Regions from separate parts of the Homo sapiens genome. Here region 2 is linked to region 1. The links are contacts of gene promoters, found by promoter capture Hi-C in human tissues and cell types (Jung and others, 2019). All regions are on one chromosome and are shown on one strand. The core of a region is centred on a gene start or on the middle of the fragment in contact, and the rest is flanking DNA. Distances in the headings are between cores, read along the strand shown.

What was found. The method cuts DNA at HindIII sites, captures the fragments that hold promoters and counts their contacts. A contact is called where the count stands out against the background at its distance.
Region 2: the fragment with the promoter of SLC7A5 here is called in contact with the fragment with the promoter of FOXC2 in region 1 in 1 of the 25 tissues and cell types used here (dorsolateral prefrontal cortex).

What each region holds. Positions count from the first base shown.
Region 1 is chr16:86,564,558-86,569,756 of GRCh38, forward strand. FOXC2 (forkhead box C2) reads left to right here and starts at 2,272. Exons shown (of 1, transcript NM_005251.3): 1 at 2,272-5,171. The coding sequence starts at 2,779. The coding sequence ends at 4,284. It overlaps FOXC2-AS1 (FOXC2 antisense RNA 1), which reads right to left and starts at 3,204. Exons shown (of 2, transcript NR_125795.1): 1 at 3,060-3,204; 2 at 588-761. RefSeq lists enhancers at 2,407-2,991, 2,992-3,575. The HindIII fragment of the contact is 12,739 bases long and covers 1-5,199 here.
Region 2 is chr16:87,866,595-87,871,793 of GRCh38, forward strand. It overlaps SLC7A5 (solute carrier family 7 member 5), which reads right to left and starts at 2,913. Exons shown (of 10, transcript NM_003486.7): 1 at 2,291-2,913. The coding sequence starts at 2,828. RefSeq lists a silencer at 2,877-3,226, enhancers at 3,467-4,226, 3,671-4,870, 4,227-4,988 and a cis regulatory region at 4,950-5,199. The HindIII fragment of the contact is 6,482 bases long and covers 1-4,968 here.

The DNA.
Region 1 (5,199 bases), core at 1,022-3,521:
GGTTTAAACCGGGACACCCTTGTGAATACAAACGTAGGCAGCAACTGCCATTTTGGAATTTATTTTTTCATAGTCCTTAGCTATTTTAGGTTTTGCTGTGATAAAGCTGTTTCTCTCTCTCTCTCTCTCTCACACACACACACACACCCCTCGTAAAAGCAGAGTAAATAATATTCCTCCAGGAAGCCTACAGGCTGAGGAGTGTTTCTTGATCAATAGTTTGCATTTCCAGTAAAATCGTGACACGAACTCAGTGTGCCTGTCATGCGCTGCAGGAGAAGGGCACTTTTTGCTAGTCCTTTTTTTTTTTTAAGCTAGATGCGGAAATACTAGCTTATTAAAAATAATAAAGTCATGGTGGGAGTTTAGGGTTGGGGCAGAAAGCTCAAATCATTTGCCTGTGAGCTGAGAACTGGGCAGCTTTATTTTACTTTGTTTCAAAGAAAGAAGAAAAAGGATCAGGTTAGAAAAAGAGCCCAGAATACTCATAAAAACAATGTTTCAGAAGTGGAATATTCAAGGTAAAGGAACCTGATTTGTAGCTTCCCTTTGGCTTTGAATTGATCAGGAGACAAAGATAATGCATCTACATTTTCGTCTTCTGTTCTTTTATTGGAAATAAGTGGCACGCCCCATTGCCTTCTAGTCGCCTCCCCGAAGCGAAGAGGCCGAAGCGAAGAGGCCTGGTGGGTTGTCTCAACATCCTTTTGCTGAGAATCGAATACGCAGCCGATGAACAGCCAGGAAGGGTGCAAGGAAACCTGAAATACAAATGTTCTCCCTGAAGCCCTCTTCCCTGCCCAACCAGACCAGCAACTTCCAAAATTCTGCCCGTGTTTAGCCTTGTTAAAGGGGTGTCTCACTCCTTCAGGGAAAGTGGGAAAAGGGGATCTGATTATTGAGGTGTGGAAGGAATAAATAATCAGTCCACAAATAAACAAACTGTCCGGGATTCCTAGAGGGAAGGAGAAATCCTTGAAGGAGATCCAAGTCGCTCCAGGTCTGCCTGCCGAATAATATCATCCCGAAGGGATCTTGAACCGTTTGCAATCAACCGCTCACCCAGTCTTCCCACGGAGCGCGCTCCCTAACTCACCCTACCCACCCAACAAAACAAAAAAAAGGCTGAAATATAGAAAAGCAACTTGGAGGCTCCCAGGGGGACGTTGCCAGGAGCAGGAGGCAGGGACAGCGCCCTAGGGTCGGTGTTAGCGGCCGGCGCCGGCCTGGGCCACGGGAAACGTCCACGCTTGGTGCCCGCGGTGCGCGGCGCTCATTGCGCGCGCCTTCGAGCCAAGCCCCCGCGGAAAACAGGCTCGGGTTTCTCCTCGCAGGGCCCAGGAACTCGGCTCTGCCTGGCCCGGGTGGGTCGCTGCATTGTCCCGGTCTTCTGGGAGTGCGGGGTCAGCTTGTTAGAGGGAATTTCTACCTGGGAAAAGGGAGACGAGTTTCGAAGCTGAAGTTGGTAGGCTGCGAGTGTCCACGCGGGAGACGAAAGGGGGAAATAGCAGAGTCACTTCACCCTTTTCCCCAAACCCCACAAAACTGCTCGCAGCGACGCGGATGATCTACCGAATTCCCCGCGAATTCGGAGGATTAAGTTGTCAGTCAGCACGTTGCTACCTTCCCCTCTATGCACTCCGCTGCCTGGCTCCTCGGCGGGGAGCGAGGGAAACTCAGTTTGTAGGGTTTACCTCTAAAACCTCGATAGGTTATCCTTGACGACCCCGAGCCTGGAAACTCCCTGTTGATGATTAATTATTTGATTAAATAAGTATAACATCCAGGAGAGGCCCTGCCATTCCAATCCAGCGCGTTTGCTTTGAATCCATTACACCTGGGCCCCCATAATTAGGAAATCTAATTATTCGCTTCATCACTCATTAATAAGAAAAATGTCCCAGGATCATTGCTACTTACAAGGTCTTTGGGAGAGATATTTTACTCTATTAATCCATTCTATTTTATATTTCAAATTGATTTTTTTTAACAGAGGAAAGTGGCTATCTTTTTGTTTTGGGCATGTGGGCCCATTCACCAAAATGTGATCATAAAATAAATTTTAATAAGATATAACTTTTTAAAAAGTTTTCAAGTGAAGACGGAGTCGCCGCGGAGGCCGGGGCGGCGGGGTCTTAGAGCCGACGGATTCCTGCGCTCCTCGCCCCGATTGGCGCCGACTCCTCTCAGCTGCCGGGTGATTGGCTCAAAGTTCCGGGAGGGGGCGTGGCCCGAGGAAAGTAAAAACTCGCTTTCAGCAAGAAGACTTTTGAAACTTTTCCCAATCCCTAAAAGGGACTTGGCCTCTTTTTCTGGGCTCAGCGGGGCAGCCGCTCGGACCCCGGCGCGCTGACCCTCGGGGCTGCCGATTCGCTGGGGGCTTGGAGAGCCTCCTGCGCCCCTCCTCGCGCGGGCCGAGGGTCCACCTGGGTCCCCAGGCCGCGGCGTCTCCGCTGGGTCCGCGGCCGCCCGCCTGCCCGCGCTGCCGCCGCCGGGTCCTGGAGCCAGCGAGGAGCGGGGCCGGCGCTGCGCTTGCCCGGGGCGCGCCCTCCAGGATGCCGATCCGCCCGGTCCGCTGAAAGCGCGCGCCCCTGCTCGGCCCGAGCGCCGCCGCCCGCGCACCCTCGCCCCGGAGGCTGCCAGGAGCCCGGGGCCGCCCCTCCCGCTCCCCTCCTCTCCCCCTCTGGCTCTCTCGCGCTCTCTCGCTCTCAGGGCCCCCCTCGCTCCCCCGGCCGCAGTCCGTGCGCGAGGGCGCCGGCGAGCCGTCTCGGAAGCAGCATGCAGGCGCGCTACTCCGTGTCCGACCCCAACGCCCTGGGAGTGGTGCCCTACCTGAGCGAGCAGAATTACTACCGGGCTGCGGGCAGCTACGGCGGCATGGCCAGCCCCATGGGCGTCTATTCCGGCCACCCGGAGCAGTACAGCGCGGGGATGGGCCGCTCCTACGCGCCCTACCACCACCACCAGCCCGCGGCGCCTAAGGACCTGGTGAAGCCGCCCTACAGCTACATCGCGCTCATCACCATGGCCATCCAGAACGCGCCCGAGAAGAAGATCACCTTGAACGGCATCTACCAGTTCATCATGGACCGCTTCCCCTTCTACCGGGAGAACAAGCAGGGCTGGCAGAACAGCATCCGCCACAACCTCTCGCTCAACGAGTGCTTCGTCAAGGTGCCCCGCGACGACAAGAAGCCCGGCAAGGGCAGTTACTGGACCCTGGACCCGGACTCCTACAACATGTTCGAGAACGGCAGCTTCCTGCGGCGCCGGCGGCGCTTCAAAAAGAAGGACGTGTCCAAGGAGAAGGAGGAGCGGGCCCACCTCAAGGAGCCGCCCCCGGCGGCGTCCAAGGGCGCCCCGGCCACCCCCCACCTAGCGGACGCCCCCAAGGAGGCCGAGAAGAAGGTGGTGATCAAGAGCGAGGCGGCGTCCCCGGCGCTGCCGGTCATCACCAAGGTGGAGACGCTGAGCCCCGAGAGCGCGCTGCAGGGCAGCCCGCGCAGCGCGGCCTCCACGCCCGCCGGCTCCCCCGACGGCTCGCTGCCGGAGCACCACGCCGCGGCGCCCAACGGGCTGCCTGGCTTCAGCGTGGAGAACATCATGACCCTGCGAACGTCGCCGCCGGGCGGAGAGCTGAGCCCGGGGGCCGGACGCGCGGGCCTGGTGGTGCCGCCGCTGGCGCTGCCCTACGCCGCCGCGCCGCCCGCCGCCTACGGCCAGCCGTGCGCTCAGGGCCTGGAGGCCGGGGCCGCCGGGGGCTACCAGTGCAGCATGCGAGCGATGAGCCTGTACACCGGGGCCGAGCGGCCGGCGCACATGTGCGTCCCGCCCGCCCTGGACGAGGCCCTCTCGGACCACCCGAGCGGCCCCACGTCGCCCCTGAGCGCTCTCAACCTCGCCGCCGGCCAGGAGGGCGCGCTCGCCGCCACGGGCCACCACCACCAGCACCACGGCCACCACCACCCGCAGGCGCCGCCGCCCCCGCCGGCTCCCCAGCCCCAGCCGACGCCGCAGCCCGGGGCCGCCGCGGCGCAGGCGGCCTCCTGGTATCTCAACCACAGCGGGGACCTGAACCACCTCCCCGGCCACACGTTCGCGGCCCAGCAGCAAACTTTCCCCAACGTGCGGGAGATGTTCAACTCCCACCGGCTGGGGATTGAGAACTCGACCCTCGGGGAGTCCCAGGTGAGTGGCAATGCCAGCTGCCAGCTGCCCTACAGATCCACGCCGCCTCTCTATCGCCACGCAGCCCCCTACTCCTACGACTGCACGAAATACTGACGTGTCCCGGGACCTCCCCTCCCCGGCCCGCTCCGGCTTCGCTTCCCAGCCCCGACCCAACCAGACAATTAAGGGGCTGCAGAGACGCAAAAAAGAAACAAAACATGTCCACCAACCTTTTCTCAGACCCGGGAGCAGAGAGCGGGCACGCTAGCCCCCAGCCGTCTGTGAAGAGCGCAGGTAACTTTAATTCGCCGCCCCGTTTCTGGGATCCCAGGAAACCCCTCCAAAGGGACGCAGCCCAACAAAATGAGTATTGATCTTAAAATCCCCCTCCCCTACCAGGACGGCTGTGCTGTGCTCGACCTGAGCTTTCAAAAGTTAAGTTATGGACCAAATCCCATAGCGAGCCCCTAGTGACTTTCTGTAGGGGTCCCCATAGGTGTATGGGGGTCTCTATAGATAATATATGTGCTGTGTGTAATTTTAAATTTCTCCAACCGTGCTGTACAAATGTGTGGATTTGTAATCAGGCTATTTTGTTGTTGTTGTTGTTGTTCAGAGCCATTAATATAATATTTAAAGTTGAGTTCACTGGATAAGTTTTTCATCTTGCCCAACCATTTCTAACTGCCAAATTGAATTCAAGAAACCGATGTGGGTTTTGTTTCCTGTACAATTATGAGATATAATTCTTTTTCCCATTGTAGGTCTTTTACAAAACAAGAAAATAATTTATTTTTTTGTTGGTGGATAAAGAAGTCAAGTATCTGATACTTTTTATTTACAAAGTGTGATGGTTTTGTATAGTAGGTTCCACCCTGAGTATTCCTAAAAGAAAAAAAAAAAAAAAGCTTAAAAACTCTAACTTCATCTGTGTTTGTCTTACGTGGTCTTAATCGTTGTACTTACCTTAAAATAAACCCATGTTGTTTTTTCTGCCCAAAGTTTGGACAGTGTGTTTGTGTTGTTGCA
Region 2 (5,199 bases), core at 1,663-4,162, 1.3 Mb after region 1:
AGCTGGGATTACAGGCATCTGCCACCACACCCAGCTAATTTTTTGTATTTTTAGTAGAGATGGGGTTTCACCATGTTGGCCAGGCTGGTCTCGAACTCCTGACTTCAGGTGATCCGCCTGCCTCGGCCTCCCAAGTGCTGGGATTACAGGTGTGAGCCACAGTGCCTGGCTGGTTTGAATTTTTAAATGATGATGAATTCATGTATGACTGATGTGATTTTTATTAGAAAGAGAAAACTAGGCAGCGCCCCATCCTACGTCTCCTTCCTGGTGGCCAATGAAGCATTTCCCACGACTCACTCCTGGCACCAGCAGGAAGTCAGAGACTCAGCACCCAGGGGCTGCTTTTTTTTTTTTGAGACAGGCTTGCTCTGTCACCCAGACTGGAGTGCAGTGGCGGGATCTCAACTCACTGCAACCTCCACATCCCGGAGCATGCCTCAGACTCATAAGCAGCTGGGATTACAGGCGTGAGCCACTCTGCCCGGCTAATTTTTGTATTTTTAGTAGAGATGGGGTTTCACCATGTTGGTCAGGCTGGTCTCGAACTCCTGACCTCGGTAGATCCGCCCGTCTCGGCCTCCCAAAGTGCTGGGATTATAGGCGTGGGCCATCACACCCAGCCAACCAGGGGTTCATTTTTTAAAGATAAGAGTGCAGGCTGCGTAAGCTACTATCCATGTCGTTACATACCGGGCCGACATGTACCTAGGCGGGAGGGAGACTGAACCAGTGAAATTCTAATGACAAAAAAAGAAATCAGAGTCATCCCCTACATTCACATCTCCAACGCCCAGCTGGAAGGCACAGGCTCTCCCCACTGCTGTCCTGCTACGATTTTTCCCGGCTTTGACCTGCATGGTGGTGCGGCTGCTCGACTCAGAGCCTCAGAGAAACCACACAGAGCCCTGCTGAGTCTTGCCCTCGGGGCATTCTCACATTTATGAAGAAATGCCTCCCCCTCCCCCTCCCCCCCAAAGTACGGTGTGGCAGAAAACAGCGCCAACAGGTCCTGCCAGTCAGAAGCCACTCCCCTGATTTCATGGCTCAAGACCCCAACTATAAATTAGCCCTTCCCACCTTGAATGTGTACACACACTATTGAGATGCAGGCCGATCCATGCCATGGGATGAATCTGAGAATTGCCAAGACCCACCTTCCCACGCCACCCAACCAAATCATGTGGCATCTGCTACAAGTGATTTTCCCCCTGAAATCCCACAAGAAAACTATTTTGAGGCCGGGCACGGTGGCTCACGCCTGTAATCCCAGCACTTTGGGAGGCCGAGGCGGGCGGATCACAAGGTCAGGAGATCGAGACCATCCTGGCTAACACGGTGAAACGCCGTCTCTACTAAAAATACAAAAAAAATTACCCGGGCGTAGTGGCGGGCACCTGTAGTCCCAGCTACTCGGGAGGCTGAGCCAGGAGAATGGCATGAACCTGGGAGGCGGGCTTGCGGTGAGCCGAGATCGTGCCACTGTACTCCAGCCTGGGCGACTGAGCGGGACTCAGTGTCAAAAAAAAAAAAAAAAAAGAAAGAAAAAGAAAAAGAAAACTATTTTGAAAAGCAGTTATCTCTGGCCTGGTGAAGAACACACCAGCACCATGCCCACCAAAACAGGAGCCCCATGGCTGTTTCCCAGAGAAACCTGGGACCCGCACGTCCATTCACTGCAACACAGACTGAATCTGCAGCCAAGCTCCGCTCTCTCACTACTGGGAACCCTCAGGGGGGATCCCTTAGCCTAAATCAGCACCAGTCACTACCCGCACACGATGTTATTACTACTGTTTTCTTATGAGTCAGCCCGTGTCACTGATTCCTGACGAGCTGGTGTGGAGAGCAGAAATGAATGATTTTTTTTTTAACTGCAATTTCCTTCTCACCAACCAGTCAGCAATCGGAGCTCTAACAGTAAACCGATTGCTCAGTTACTCCACGTGGGTGCCACGCAAGAGGCTGGGAGTATTGCTCAGCGGGGCCAACGGGAGGGTGGCACTTGCCTAAACCGCTTAAGTGGGGGAATGGAATGCCCACCGAAGGGCAGGGCAGGGACCCTGCTGTCCCGTCACTGAAGATATTCCCAGCCTGTGGGGAGAAGTGTAAAAGAATGAATGAAAGAAACGCACGTGGTTTCTGGGACCAATGACCTTAGCCTAGAACTGCCGGGATGGTCCAGGAACGTAAAGATGTAGAGATGTGGGAGCCAGGGGCGTAGTGATGCAAGGATGCAGGGACCCAGAGACTACGACCTCCCAACCCCCGGCCCGCGCCCCGTACTCACGCACGCAGAGGCAGGCCACGAGCTTGGCTGCCTCCTCGGGCACCGGGCAGGTGGGGAAGAGCGGCTTGAGCAGGTAGGTGGCGAAGACCAGGGCCACGATGTACTGCGATGAAGGCCGGATGATGAGCAGCTCGATCCAGAGCTTGAGGAAGGCGGGCAGCGAGCCGTAGACCTCCAGCATGTAGGCGTAGTCGCCGCCCGATTTGGAGATGGTGGTGCCGAGCTCCGCGTAGCAGAGCGCGCCCACGATGGAGAAGACGCCGCACGCGGCCCACACCACCAGCGCCAGCCCCGGCGAGCCTGCCTCCTTGAGCACGCCCGTGGGCGTCACGAAGATGCCCGAGCCGATAATGGTCCCCACGATGATGGCCACGCCGTTGAGCAGCGTGATGTTCCGCTGCAGGGTCACGCCCTCGCCCTCGCCTGCCGGCGCCGAGCCGTCCGCGCTCTTGGCGGCCAGCATCTTCTCCCGCGCCTCTTCCTTCTCCTCGGCCGCCGGCGCCGCTAGCGCGCGCCGCTTCGGGCCCGCACCCGCCATGCTCTGCGCACCGGCCGGGCCTGGGACACCCGGGAGCCGCGGCCCAGCGAGCAGTGTGCGCGCCGCCCGCCGCCCGCAGCTGCGTCAGGAACCCCGCCCGCGCCGCCTTTTAGGCCCCGGCCCGCCGGCCCCGCCCACCGTCCGCGGCTCCTCCCCGCCCCGTGGCCCGGCCCCGTCCCTCAGCCCCGCCCCCTCGGCCCAGCTCGGAGCACGTGCGTCGTCCGGCCCAGCCTGGCGGGCTATTCCCAGGCCCGCGTGGTCCTCGAAGGCCCCAGTCCTCCTGCGCCATGGAGACCCCGGCCTCGCGACCTCCCCCCTCCCGGCGCCCGCGTCATCCCAGCCCGTCCTCCCGGATGCGCCTGGGCGGGGCCTGGCAGTCAGGGCGCGCCCCTTCACCCACTGGCCCGCAGCCTCTCGTCAAGCCTGGGAGCGGGCAGTGCACCAGGGCTGGCCTGAGGCCAAGGATGGAGTTTGGGGTACCCCCCGAAGGGAACCTAGGCTCCTGTCCCGGATGGGCCGAGGGGATGGAACCGCCCCCACAACCAGCTCCTGGGGCACGGGGGAGGGATGAGAGGATGACCTGAGGGGAAGCTCCTGCAGCCTCCTTCCAGCCTGGGGGCTGCATCAGTGGGGCTGGTGAGCCGCGAACTGGGACGAGGGAAGAACCGAACCGAGGCCACCCAGTAATTCCCATTGTATCCCAAAAGAATCTTGCCAAAGACGGCGATCCGGTGCCCGTAGCTTTGAGAAGCAGTAATAACACAGGCTTTGGGAAGCCAGCAATCTGCCTGAGCTCAATTTAATCAACAGAACCGGGGGTTCGCTGGGAGCCATAAGACCCCCACCCCCAAATCTACCTGGGGAATTCAAAGGCAGGCTTCAGTGTGAAGGGGCTTTAAAGCTTGTTATTCCTAGGGAATGCGAGAGGCATCTTAGCTAAAAAGGGTTGAGAGGTAATTTCAGTTAGAGGCGAGAGCAGGATGCCAAGGCTCCTAGGCCTGGAAATGGGAAGGAATATAAATACTGCCCCGAGATTGACCAGACTGGTGAGCGGCCAAAGACCTGTTCAAAGGGTGTGTGTGGGTCAGGGAGGAAGCTCCTCAGTATCACCCCACCCCGGGGTTCCTTGGCGTGTGTGCAAACGAGTCCTTGGAAGCTCACAGCAGGCATGTGGGGAGGCCTTTGTTCTGGGTGAGCGTTCAGCCTCCCAGGGCAAACACGCAAACACCGGTTGCAGAGCTGGGTGTTCACAGCAAGACAGTCTGCTGGGCAGATGCCTCTGGAATCCACAGAATTCTGAACAATAGCCGTGGTGGAGGGGGGTCAGAATCCCTGTCGTGCTGGGACCTCTAGCTGCAGCCAGGAATGTCCAGGCCCCACCCCAGGGAGGGGGCGGCTGAGGAATGCCAGGGCTTGTCATTCTGGACCTTGCTCGCCCCCCGGTATGTCGGGCATTCCTCTGCGGTGATAAAACCGAGCGAAATCTCAGCAGCCCAGGCAGCCACAGGCGGGGGAGTGCGGAGGTCACACAGATACTAACTTGTAATCTGCCGTCCACATTGCTGGCTGTGGAAGGTGCAGAGACCCCTCCATCTGCCCTATTCTTCCCGCTGTGCCTGCAGAGGGAAGGAGACAGTACCACCATGGCTGGGCAAACTCACCGAGTGCTCACTGAGTCCTCCCCTAGACAGCTTCTTATGCAATAGGGTAGGTGCCAGTTAGAGCCATTTTGCAAATAAGGAAGCTGAGGCTTGGTAGGGTTACCTCGCTTGTCCGGCCAGCAAGTAGCCTGGGAGCTGTCCTTTTGACTCTGAACTTATATGGTACTTTTAATCATTCCACCATTCTTCTTTGAGTAACAAGAAAGGCAACCAACAGTCATACCCCAAAGCATAAAATTACAACCATGATAAGCCAAGGACATGACAGGGTGAGCCAGCGACAGCGACAGGGACCAGGCAGGTCCAGATAGACTTTTCTGAGGTGGTACCTGGAGCTGAGAGCCCAGGGTGAGTGAGAATTAATAAGGGAGGTGCAGGGGTCCCCACCGGCACAGAGGGGGCCCTGCACAGTTGGTGCAAGTCATGGTTGGTGCCCCCAGAGCCAGGCTCCTGGCAAGTGCTGGAGCCCTTAAGCAGGAAGGGTGACAACAGCCATGAGCGTGTTCAAGTCACACAGCTATTACGCCACCTCTGTCGGTTTTTACTGGGTTTTCATATGACAACATTCTAGATTTATCCAGCAAATCTACTCCTCTCAGACGTCCCTGATGCCGGCCCTGAAACGCCTTCGCCTGAAAGCTATGACTCTAGAATCTTAGCAAAGAGTGCCATCTGTTGGAAAGATTCGGCAGCGTTTTGATTTTTACAGA